Linked DNA regions of Homo sapiens: all the other regions are linked to region 1. The links are contacts of gene promoters, found by promoter capture Hi-C in human tissues and cell types (Jung and others, 2019). All regions are on one chromosome and are shown on one strand. The core of a region is centred on a gene start or on the middle of the fragment in contact, and the rest is flanking DNA. Distances in the headings are between cores, read along the strand shown.

Evidence for each region. Contacts are between HindIII fragments. The study calls those that stand out against the background at their distance.
Region 2: a fragment that was not itself captured here is called in contact with the fragment with the promoter of KCTD4 in region 1 in 4 of the 25 tissues and cell types used here (IMR-90 fibroblasts, aorta, bladder and 1 more).
Region 3: a contact is called between a fragment that was not itself captured here and the fragment with the promoter of KCTD4 in region 1, in 5 of the 25 tissues and cell types used here (dorsolateral prefrontal cortex, hippocampus, mesendoderm cells and 2 more).
Region 4: a contact is called between a fragment that was not itself captured here and the fragment with the promoter of KCTD4 in region 1, in 1 of the 25 tissues and cell types used here (hippocampus).

The regions. Positions count from the first base shown.
Region 1 is chr13:45,199,391-45,202,574 of GRCh38, forward strand. It overlaps KCTD4 (potassium channel tetramerization domain containing 4), which reads right to left and starts at 1,655. Exons shown (of 2, transcript NM_198404.3): 1 at 1,434-1,655. The region is part of intron 4 of GTF2F2 (general transcription factor IIF subunit 2); the gene reads left to right. The HindIII fragment of the contact is 9,631 bases long and covers 1-3,184 here.
Region 2 is chr13:45,005,857-45,009,040 of GRCh38, forward strand. It overlaps GPALPP1 (GPALPP motifs containing 1), which reads left to right. Exons shown (of 8, transcript NM_018559.5): 3 at 346-447; 4 at 2,939-3,023. Among named protein-coding and RNA genes, the nearest start is that of GPALPP1, 18 kb to the left of the region's middle. The HindIII fragment of the contact is 5,478 bases long and covers 1-3,184 here.
Region 3 is chr13:45,035,389-45,038,572 of GRCh38, forward strand. It overlaps a transcript of GPALPP1 not described here. Among named protein-coding and RNA genes, the nearest start is that of GPALPP1, 47 kb to the left of the region's middle. The HindIII fragment of the contact is 4,747 bases long and covers 1-3,184 here.
Region 4 is chr13:45,344,616-45,347,799 of GRCh38, forward strand. The region is part of intron 3 of TPT1-AS1 (TPT1 antisense RNA 1); the gene reads left to right. Among named protein-coding and RNA genes, the nearest start is that of TPT1-AS1, 4.9 kb to the left of the region's middle. The HindIII fragment of the contact is 8,275 bases long and covers 1-3,184 here.

The sequences.
Region 1 (3,184 bases), core at 405-2,904:
AATCTTGACAATTTATAAGTCATATTAATTCATGTTTTACATGTACTTTGGAAAATGAGTATTTCAGGGAAACCTGTGTTTTATAATTTTGTAAGCAGAAGTCATACCTTAAGTTTTTTAAAAATGAAGTTTTTTTTTGAAATATAACCTGTGCGTTATTATTTACTGGAAAATTCTATTGTAACCAGATGAGCATAGCACTTATGTAAGCCATCAAATGAACATTAAAATTATAATATTGTACAGAACTCATTTTTATAGTGCTATTTGGCAAAATGCAATTTTACTTTCTCTTTGGGAAGAAGATATTTTAAGCTAATAACCATTATCTACAATCTCAAAATGAAGGGCATAACTTTGAAAACTCTTGTAAAGGTAGTACAGTTAGGAAGTAAATGACTAAAGAGGGTCTCTGTTACCGTATACTAGCGCCTGCCACTGTTCCTTCTGATTTTCTCATCACTTAACATCTGCTTGTGTCTTCAGTGATGAGGTGGTGTGGAGAAGAGAGAAGAGGATCTGAACAGGAGAACAGGATGTGATGGCTCAAGGGAGCAAATGTGGTTTCTTACAGAGTAGGGAGGAGTTATAAACTAGGGATGGAGAACTCTATCATATCACACATTTTTTTCATATTTACCATTTCTATAACTGAGGTACATCTTAATATCGTTAGCTTGTCAAAGTTTAGCAGCAGTATTTTGTCTTGGTGGCACGTAAAATAATGGTTGCTATTACAAATGATAGCATCTTATAGTTGATGAAATATTTGAGCAGCTCTGTGAGCTATTCCCTCCGTATCACAAGAAAGTAAAATTAACAGACAGGGAGGAGGGAAAGAATTTTGCAGGGAGATGAGAGAGAGAGGGAGAGACAAAACAATGTGGCTGCTTGATGTTAAAATTAGGCAAATTATTTTATAACTTTTATAAAATTAAATTTTATTTTTTGATACAGGGTCTTGCTCTGTCACCCAGGCTGGAGTGTATTGCAACCTCAACCTCCTGGGCTCAGGTGATCTTCCTGCCTTAGGAAACTCCCGTATAGTTGGGGCCACAGGCATACCCCACCATACCTGGCTAACTTTTTTATCTTTTTGTGGAGACTGGGTCTCACTTTGTTGCCCAGGCTGGGCTCAAGCTATGCTGCTGCCTCAGCCTCCCAAAGTGTTGGGATTACAGATGTGAGCCACCATGCGTGGCAAAATTCCTGAAGATCAAATAGAGATCAGAATATTACTTCACAAGTAAAGAGCAGCTTTTTAATAATACAGGGATAGAAAGTTTGCCTAACTGGTTTGTTAAGATGCTAGTACCTTTTATTAGTAGACCTCAACTCAGAACCACAGGCAAAAAAACTTCTAGGAACATATTTTAAATGAGAAGAAAGGAGACTACTAGGAATATTAAAAATGGTTTGCCTTTTAAATGTACCTGCTTCTTGAAAAGATTATTTCTTCAGTCTTTTCCCAGAGAGTGTCGACACAGGTGTGATGTAATTAAGAGTCAGGAGAGTAAGGAGAGTAACTTCGAGGTCTGGAGGATCAGCCTGAAATGTTGGTCAGTAGTCCTCTGGTCTGGGTTTTTACAGGAGCTGGAAGTTCTCTTAAAGGCCTCCACATTCAGCTGGATCCAGAAGGTCTTGTGGAAATGAATGAGTGTAACTTCCTGATGCCTAAGACTTCCTAACATACTTGATTTCATTACTTACATGCCAATGCTAATAAGCAGTGTTGCTGCTTGCTTATTCCTTTAACTTCTTCAAACTAGGGATGCCCTTAACTTTTTAAAAAAAGTGCCAGTATCATTTCTCCTCAGTTCTTTGACATAGAGTGTATGTCAAGTTCAGATATAGGGCAGGATAATCCAGCATAGAGCACAAATTTAAATATTTTCAAGCCTTGGGCAGCTTCTTAACATTTTGTTATTCTCTTTCTATTCAAAGAAAATTTAATTATATCTAGGTCTTTTGGAAAGTACTAGAGCAAACAAAATAACACTAATGAAATAATAAAACATCCCCAGTTGGAGAGGAAGGCTAGCATTTTTATTTAGTGAAAGAGACCTAGAAGAGATCTCAGACATTCTAGTAATATCATTATTATGGATGCTGAGGCCCAGAGATGTAAAATAACTTCTCCAAAGTAACACTGCTGTTTAGTGACAGAATCTTAACTAGAAGCCTTCAGTTCTTTTTATAGGATGTGCTTTATATACATAACCTTTAAAATTTTCTCTCGAGTTTTTTCTGATTTTAGGTGGTGGGATATACATAAATTACCATCATCAAAGATGTGTGTTCATACTCAATAAGATTCTTTTGGTTGCAAGTAGCAGAAACCAGTCAACAAACCAATCTAGCCAAAAAAGGAGTGCGGGGGAGAATTTAGAAAGAATCCCATACTATTTCCCAGAATCCAAAGAAGAGCAAATGGCCAAGGAAAAGATATGAATTGAGCCATTCCAAAGCCTTTGGTAGGATGAGTTTGTGTGGCTTCTCTGCAGAGTGCTGGCAAGACCATGTCCTTCTAGTAATTGGTGGTGTGAGCCCCTTAGTTGAACATTTCAAGCACAAGAGCGAGCAAGCACAGACACACAGAGGCCATTCCTACCACCTTCAGTACTCTTCCTTCTTACCCCCACCCACCCCAGTCTAAATCCTACCCATTTTTCAAGGTCCAGCACAATCATTGCTTATTCTTCAAAACTCTTCTTGGCCTGGCGTGGTGGCTCACACCTGTAATCCTAGCACTTTGGGAGGCTGAGGTGGGCGGATCACCAGAGGTCAGGAGTTCAAGACCAGCCTGGCCAACATGGCAAAACCCCATCTCCACTAAAAATACAAAAATTAGCCTGGCGCAGTGGCACATACCTGTAATCCCAGCTACCCAGGAGGCAGAGGCAGGAGAATCGCTTGAACCCAGGAGGCGGAGGTTGCGGTGAGCCAAGATCGCGCCACTGCACTCCAGTCTAGGCAACAGAGCGAGACTCCATCTCAAAACAAAACAAAACAAAAAACTCTTCTTGATCTCTAGCTAGACATCTGAGTGGGTGTGTGTGTGTGTGCAAGTACATGTGTGTTTAATCCCAGTACTCTTGTATGTTTCTATTTTATGACCTTTAACATATTCAACTTGACAGAAGAATCCTACAGCACATATGGAATAACCAGTAATTGGTCAGTT
Region 2 (3,184 bases), core at 415-2,914, 190 kb before region 1:
TCTACTAAAAAATACAAAAATTAGCTGGGCGTGGTGGCGCTTCCCTGTAATCCCAGCTACTTGGGAGGCTGAGGCAGGAGAATTGCTTGAACCTAGGAGTGGGAGGTTCCAGTGAGCCAACATCACGCCACTGCACTCCAGCCTGGGCAACAAGGCAAGACTTCCTCTCAAAAAATAAAAAAAAAAAAAGAACTATCGTAGTATCCAGTTTTTATTTGGCAGGATTAATTTATTGTTGCAGTGTTTATACAACTAGATTTAATGCTTTTTTAAAAAAAATTAAAATGTGCTTTTGTGAAAAAAATTTTGACATATATGCATAAAGTTATACTACTATGTTTTCAGAAAACAGAGGAAAAATCAGGATGATGACGATGATGATGATGATGGGTTTTTTGGACCAGCCCTTCCTCCTGGATTTAAAAAGCAGGATGATTCTCCTCCAAGGTGATAATGTGTAATATTTTAGGCCAGTCTTTCTTTAAATATTTTAACTAATGAATCTTTAATGAATTAAAGAATTGTCTGAAATTATGTTTTAACTGAAATATTTATATAACATTTTGAAATGGGTCATTCACCAGGAAAAGAAGTTGTTTCCTACAATAAAAATAATTATTTACATGTTTATGACACTTTCATAGTTTACAAAAAACTTCCACATCTGTTATTTGATATTCACAAAAGTGTTTTGTGGTAAACGAGGTGGATCACCCCTCTCCCCACTTTATAAACAGATAAGGTCACACACATAGTAGCAGACCTGGAGCTAGAATCTTGATGTTGTGACTTTTAATTCAGTTGTTTTCTTAATTATTTATCAATAGAAGAAACACATCCCCATGTGCCATGTTAGACAATTGGACTAACTTCTCTGAATCTTAAATTTGTTATCTGTAAGCTAGGATAACAGCATGTACTTTACAGAATTGTGATGATTGAGGTTTCATAGTTACATACCTTGACTTTGTGTGTGGGTGTTTAATTTATATGGAGCCTGGCACAGAGTAAGTATATAGTAAATATTTATTCCTGTCTTCTTCCCAGAATTGTAAAATTTTTAAATGCCAAATATAAGATCGCACATCAAATTGTTTATAATTCATAATACTGTATACCAATATGCAAGAACAAGCAGAAAAGGCTTTTTATTTTATATTCAAAGTTTATAATCACATTTGGCAGCTCCTAACTTCCATTAACTTTAGTTGTTTCAGATATACAGGGATAGGCAATCTACAGTCCCCAAACTAAAAATGATTTTTGCATTTTTGAGAGTAGCTGAAAAAACAAAGACAGATATGCCACAGAGACCCACATGTGGCTCTCAAAGCCTAAGAGTTACTATCTAGCCCTTTATAGAAAGTTTGCTGACCCCTAGGATGTAACATTCCTTTTAAGAAAACATATTACTTAAATGTATACCAATTTTATTCTTAAGAATATTATTTTGGCAATAATAAAATGTATGTGTAAAATAAACAGCTGGCATTATATATTGGAGTTAGAAACCTTTTATAGTATCATAACATGCCATGGTTTTATTCCTTTACTATGTTTTATGATTTTATATACCAGTAATTTTATCACCACCAATCCCCTGAGGCCAGAAAGTTAAGCTATAATTGCATTTGTAGATTGCTAAAAATTGTACTCAGAAAAAACCTATGCTGTACTCATAGCTTATAAATGATACCTAATTTTATCTTTTTAACAGTGCCAAACTTCCCTGTCTTTCATAAGCAAATTGTTCTGCTCAAAGAAGTTTCATGAATCAAGACAAGAGATTATTAAATGGTCAGGATGGGAACCCAGACTTTCTGACTGTCAGTACTGTTATTTCCCCTGCCAGGATGCCTGTCTGTGGGGTTCTGATAGAACATGGTGCAACCTGGAAATTTTAGCTTAGGACTTCAGTGCCATCTGGGTTGGTAACACTGGCACAGTGACAACTATGGAAAAAACATTTGTACAAAAGCAAGGATGAAGAATCTTAAAAGTGTGAAAGAGAGCATTTTTTTATTTTTTATTTTTATCTTTTTAATTTTTTCCTTCATAAAGTAAGGCTGTCTCCTTTTAAGACCCAGTGTTAAGGCAAGTCTCTCTTTTGAAGTGATGACAGTTGCCTCATTATTTGGCAGTAGGGCAGCTGGAAAGAAAATGCACTTTGACATCAAGTAGACCAGGGTTTAAACTCTAGCTCAGCCACTTACTAATTGTGTTAATCTTGGACATGATTTTGCTCATCTTAAAAGTGGAGTGACTTACACTGACCAGGATTGTTTTAAGGAAACAGATGCACTGCTTGAAATATGGTTAGCACGGTACCCTTTTCCCTTTCTGTGGGTCTTAATGAACTAGCTGCATTCTTCTACAGTTCCACATCATTACTGAGGACAATGTATAGATTTTTAATACTGCCATGTTATATAGACCACAGATTGCTGGCATTGTCTGCACATGCTATATATGTCCTTAGAAGAACTCAATTTCTACTTTGGTAGTTCTGACCATAATTATAATGCCCCTAAGGTATCTTTCACGGGATAATGAATCTCAAAACTGAAGGAAAGCCAAGGCACAAAATAAAAAAAGACCATCACAGATTTTAGTACATCAATTTTTTTAAAACATTGCCATTTTTATTTAATATAGTTCTTTTTAGGAAGTGTGCATATGCCAGTGTCACAAAGATTGAGAATTATTGGCTTAGTCTCTAATTATTGACTAACAAGTAGAAAAGTCAAATGTGAAAATTAGGTTTTTAAAAGACGTCTAGCAGAAAGATACTAGGTAATACTAGTAAAAATAAAGTGTTAAATAAAATTCTTATTTTCAACATTTGTCACTATTTGGCTTTATTATTTTTGTGAACTTTTATTCTTATAACTGCTTTTTAAAGTCAGGGAGAATGATAAAAGTACATTTTATTTTTCAGGCCCATAATAGGTCCTGCATTGCCACCTGGTTTCATTAAATCTACACAGAAAAGTGACAAGGGCAGAGATGATCCAGGACAACAGGTATCATCATCCCATTTCAACTCTAAGGTTTGGAAAGTTTTCATTGAAAGAATAAGATGTATTGTAACAAACTCCAAACTTTATGCATGCAGTTACTACAACCACTGGACTCAACTGTAATGTAAGACTCAGTTATATTCAGATTAATTTAAGATTGTAAC
Region 3 (3,184 bases), core at 352-2,851, 160 kb before region 1:
GCTCTGCAAACACCCTGTATGTAACTCCACTAATAACTGTCATTAGTTATCAGAACATTAATACATTGATCTGAACATTGAGCCTATACTTTATCATCAAAACCATAAATATTTAAGAATAGCTGTTTTTTTAAGAAGTTGTTGTAAATTACTTGTTTCCTCCTGGGCCTAATTATTGAGGGTTATTTACATTCTTTTTAAGAACTGAATAGCACCAGATGAATTCAACAATTATTAGTCAAGTCTCTAGAATTCTGGACATAGCAGAATGTTTTTACTTAGGGACTGAAAAATACAGTAGATCAGTCTGTCTCTTAATTTGTAATCCTTAAACTATTTCTATCAGAATCACCTAGGAGTTCATTTAAATGCAGATCTCCAGGCCCAAACCTATTGAATAGGAATCTTTGGGGTTAGAATCAGAGCATCTTCACTTTTAACAATTATCCCAGGCCATTCTTTGTAAATTCAAGTTTAAGAACCACTGCATTTATGGGCAGACAAGGTAGCTCACACCTGTAATCTCAGCACTTTGGAGGGCCAAGGTGGGAGGATTGCTTGAGGCCAGGAGTTCAAGGCTACCCTGGCCAACATGGTGAAACCCTGACTCTAAAAAGAAATTTAAAAAAATAATAACCACCGCACTTACATGTGTTCCTATAAACAATCCCCTCTCCTTTGTTATATGTTCTGTTTTCCTATTATATATTCCTAAATACATAATCACTTTACTTTGCATAGCAACAAACACCAGCACCAGCAATACTTGCCTCTTGAAGAATGGATTGTCACTTCTCTTGAGTGAATGCCTAAAAGCATTCACCCTTCAAACATCTACCAGCCAGTTGCTACAGTGATCAAGATTCTACTGCCATTGATAATTCAGTTTCATTGCACTTTGCCCTCTCTTCAGCACCTTTTAAAATAGATAAGTCCCTAAGAGGAATAGTCAGATTGTAGTTCCTTGTCCCTGGCTGACTTGGGGCCATTTAAGACTGAATGCCTCAGGAATGCAGAACATTGAAAAGGCAGGGAGCACAAAAAGGGAGCACTGGTGGGCTATAGATGATCTGCAAAGGATGGTCTCTACCTTATGACTATTTTCCTTGGGGGAATTAACCAGTTAATGTTACTTTGAGGTCTTAGATAACTGTGCTTTGGCAGCTAAGGTATTAACTTCAGAAGCAACTGAGTTTACTTTTAGATACCAGTTTCTGTATTTGCTGACAAAGAAAAGATAACAGTAGGTAAAAGAATGTTAAAAAGAAACAAAAGGCCAGGCACAATGCCTCACATCTGTAATCCCAGCACTTCAAGAGGCCAAGACAGGAGGATCACTTGAGGGCCAGGAGTTCAAGACCAACCTGGGCAACGTGGCATGACCCTGTCTCTACAAAAAAATAAAAATTAAAAATTATCTGGGCATGGTGGCATGGCATGCATCTGTAGTCCCAGCTACTCAGGAAGCTAAGGCAGGAGGATCACTTGAGCCCAAGAGTTCAAGGCTGCAGTGAGCTATGAACATGCCACTGCACTCCAGCCAGGGAGACAGAGAGACCCCATCTCTAAAAGAGAAAAAAAGAAAGCAATAAAATTCTGCAGAACTAGGTAGGAAAGACAATAAAAGCTACAAGGGTGCATCATTGTTTTGAGATCTAGACAAATTTCGAGAACCTATTCAAGAATATTGAAAAGTATTTCAAAGTTCATTTTCATATCTCTGATTACTTACCGCTGTCCTGCCCTTTAAAGCACTTCCATTTGTTTTCTTTATGATGGGGTAATGTTGGCCAAACAGGCTATATGATAAAGTATTTAGTCCTAGTTTTATCTTCATACAATCAGAGCTCTGAGATGAAAATAAACTTGTTCCTTTTTTATCACTAGGTACAAAACAACAAATGAAGTTGCTTATGTATATAATATGATGATTTTTGTCTTTTTAGGTAATGGCTGAAAGCAACACATTTTGCTAACCTAAGGATAAATAATACTATAATACCTAATTCACACTACACACTTAACAAAAGCAATTTATCATCAGCCTAAGATTGCTAATTTTTATAACAGGTACAGACATAATTAACTTAATATTGACCAGCAAATAAATCTAGAAATTGTGCTTATTCTTTAGTATTCATTTTAACTGAATTTAAATTAGTGTTTTTCCCTAACAGCCTTGTATATTGCTTAATAAAATTGTCATATTTGAAAACAGAGATTCTTAAAGTTTAAAATGCTTGCAGTCAAATGACAGTTTATCAATAAAGATTTAAAACTATCTTTTAACCTGTCAGTTTGTAAGATGCTAATCAATCCATTATACTGTGTTGCCTCTAAGAAAATGACATGAAAAGATGGTTTCAGAATATTTCTTTCTACCAGCAAATCATAAAGAGCTTTTTAAAATCACATTTATAGTCTTTCCAGTGAGCTTATGTGAACACACAGTGGGGCTGCATCTTTATTGAGTATTTACCAGAACTGAGTAATATCTAGGCTTAGGTGAATGGAAGGTGATAGTTGAACAAAAATGATGACCAATTTAGTCAGCAAAATCGATGTCTTTCCAACTTTGATGTGAATCAGAATCCCCTGGGAGCTTATTACAAACATAGATGCCCTAACCTTCCAGAGGATTTTGTTTTGTTTTGTTTTTTTGGAGACAGAGTCTCATTCTGTTGCCCAGACTGGAGTGCAGTGGTACACATCTTGGCTCACTGCAACTTCTGCCTCCCAGGCTCAAGCGATTCTCCTGCCTCAGCCTCCTGAGTAGCTGGGACTACAGGCATGCACCACCACACCAGGCTATTGTCTGTGAGTAAAGACGGGGTTTTCACCATGTTTGCCAGGCTAGTCTCAAACTCCTGGTCTTAAGTGATCTGCCCACCTCAGCCTCCCAAAGTGCTGGAATTACAGGTGTGAGCCACCATGCCCAGCCAATCAGAAGTTTTGATTCCATCTATAGGTTTGGGGTTGGGCCCAATAGATGGTTGGGCCGTCTATTTTGGGCAAGCTGCCCAGGTGATTCTGTGTACCCTGAAGTATGAGAATCCAACTTGGTTTGGTCTGAACATGACATTTCTAGAGGTTCTTAAAGCTTAAAATGTTTGCAGTCAAACCACAGTTTAGAGTCTAACATTAATAGAATCAAGATTAAGATTTCTAGAATCAAAGATGTTGG
Region 4 (3,184 bases), core at 476-2,975, 150 kb after region 1:
CCCCAGTGTTTTGTGAATACTTATATTTGACTCTAGCTCATTTGAACAATTTTTGCCAGAAAGAGAAAACAGCCAAATGGAGATCTGGCTTGCTGTGTAGGGGCTGAGAGAAGTGTGATCATTCTGACCCTCTATTAGCAGGAAACTGCTCAACAGTCACATCTTGAAAGTAACTTGAGGCAACTGCAGGAGGGCTGCATGGCGGGAAAGAAATTGCTGAAAACAGGCTGGGTGAGCTGGCTCGTACCTGTGATCCCAACACTTTGGGAAGTGAAGTTGGGCGGATCACTTGAGGTGAGGAGTTTGAGACCAGCCTGCCCAACATGGTGAAACCTCGTCTCTACTAAAAATAATAAAATTAGCCAGGCATGGTGGTAGGCGGCTGTAGTTCCGGCTATTCGGGTGGTTGAGGCCTGAGAATTGCTTGAACCTGGGAGGTGGAGGTTGCAGCGAGTCGAGATTGCACCACTGCACTCCAGCTTGGGTGACAGAGCGAGACTCTGTCTCAAAAAAAAAAAAAAGAAATTGCAGAAAATTTTTCTCCCCTCCCTTTTTCACTACTGTCCTTGACTAGTTAAAAAAAAAAAAAAAGCCGGCTGGGCGTGGTGGCTCATGCCTGTAATCCTAGCACTTTGGGAGGCCGAGGCAGGTGGATCACCTGAGGTCAGGAGTTCAAGACCAGCCTGGCCAACATGGTGAGACCCTGTCTCTATTAAAAATACAAATATTACCTGGACGTGATGGCAGGCGCCTGTAATCCCAGCGACTCGGGAGGCTGAGGCAGGAGAATCACTTGAACCCGGGAGGTGGAGGTTGCAGTGAGCCTAGATAGTGCCATTGTACTCCAGCCTAGGCAGGCCAAGGTGGGAGGCTCACTTGAGGCAGAGTTTGAGACCACTCTGGGCAACATAGCGAGACCCCATCTCTGAAAAAAAAAATTGTTGAAAACACCTCAGTTTTCTCTCCCTCTGAAAAAGAAGCTACTGTCTATAGAAACAAAAGGCGGCCCGGCGTGGTGGCTCACGCCTGTAATCCCAGCACTTTAGGAGGCCGAGGTGGGTGGATCACGAGGTCAGAAGATCAAGACCATCCTGGCCAACATGGTGAAACCCCGCCTCTACTAAAAAATACAAAAAATTAGCCGGGCGTGGTGGCGGGCGCCTGTAGTCCCAGCTATTTGGGAGGCTGAGGCAGGAAAATGGCGTGAACCCGGGAAGCAGAGCTTGCAGTGAGCTGAGATCGCGCCACTGCACTCCAGCCTGGGCGACAGAGCAAGACTCCCGTCTCAAAAAAAAAAAACAAAAGGCATAGACTTCGCTCAAATTGTCACCCTCTCCACAGGCTATCCTTGACCATCATGTTTAAAATTACAATCCCTGCCTCTTGGAAATCCCTGTGTTTTTGTTTTTTTTCCTTTTGAGACGGGATCTCATTCTGTTGCCCAGGCTGTGAAGCGGCACAATCACAGCTCACTGCAGCCTCCACCTCCCTCCTCAGCCTCCCGAGTAGCTGGGACTACAGACACGTGCCACCATGCCTGGCTAATTTTTCTATTTTTAGTAAAGTCAGGGTTTCACCATGTTGGCCATGCTGGTCTTGAACTCCTGGCCTCAAGTGATCCACCCACCTTGGCCTTTGAAAGTGCTGAGATTACAGGCATGAGCCACCACGCCTGGTTTTTCTTTCTTTTTTTCTTTTTTTAATTTTGAGACGGAGTCTTGCACTGTCGCCCAGGCTGGAGTGCAGTGAGGCAATCTCGGCTCACTGCAAGCTCCGCCTCCCAGATTCACGCCATTCTTCTGCCTCAGGCTCCCGAGTAGCTGGGACTACAGGCACCCGCCACCACGCCCTGCTAATTTTTTTGTGTTTTTAGTAGAAACGTGGTTTCACCATGTTAGCCAGGATGGTCTCGATCTCCTGACCTCGTGATCCACCCGCCTCGGCCTCCCAAAGTGCTGGGATTACAGGCGTGAGCCACCGTGCCCGGCCCCATTTATCCCTAATATTTATTTGTGGGACTAATTAACCAACATGTTATTTCTTTTCTTTTTTTTTTTTTTTTTTTTTGAGATGGAGTTTCGCTCATTACCCAGGCTGGAGTGCAATTGCACAATCTTGGCTCACCCAAACCGCCACCTCCTGGGTTCAAGCGATTCTCCTGCCTCAGCCTCCTGAGTAGCTGGGATTAGAGGCATGTGCCACCACACCCGGCTAATTTTGTATTTTTAGTGGAGACGGGGTTTCTCCATGTTGGTCAGGTTGGTCTTGAGCTCCCGACCTCAGGTGATCTGCCCACCTCGGCCTCCCAAAGTGCTGACATTACAGGTGTGAGCCACCATGCCCAGCCCCAACATGTTATTTTCTTATACTTACTTTATTTTCTGTCTCCCCTCCAGACAATGTAAGTGCCATGGAGGTTGAGAGAGTTTTTTTGCTCACAGTTGTATTCCCGGTGCATTAAACAGTGCCTATGGCTGGGTGCAGTGGCTCATACCTGTAATCACAGCACTTTGGGAGGCCAGGGTGGGCAAATCACTTCAGGTTAGGAGTTTGAGACCAGCCTCTAGGTCAGGAGTAGAGACATGGCAAAACCCTATCTCTACTAAAAATACAAAAAATTAGCTGAGCCTGGTGGCATGGGTCTGTAATCCCAGCTACTCGGGAGGCTGAGGCACAAGAATCCCTTGAACCTGGGAAGTGGAGGTTGCAGTGAACCAAGATCATGCCACTGCACTCCAGCCTGGGTGACACAGTAAGACTCCGTCTCAAAAAAAAACAAAAAAACAAAACAAAACCATAGAGAAGAGCTCTTCCCTGGGAGGAGGAAAAGTGGCCTAAGACATAGTTAAATCATAAAAGCAAGTTGTAGAACATCACTCCTTCATTTAACACCCAGATACACATGACAAAAACCAATAGACTGCTCTACCTATGTGTATATATTTACAAAAGCAAACATGAGAATCTAGAAGGTTATGCATCAAACTGGTAACAGTGGCTAATTCTGGGAGGCAGCTGGGGAAAAGTGAGTGGTCAAAGGGGAACTATAGCATTAATTGTTTCAATTTAATATCCAATAATGTTTCATATTTAATATCCAAAATATTCTTTTTCTCATAGATACCAAACATAATAATGCAAATAAAGTATGGGGAAGTATTTATATCATATGTAAACAATATAT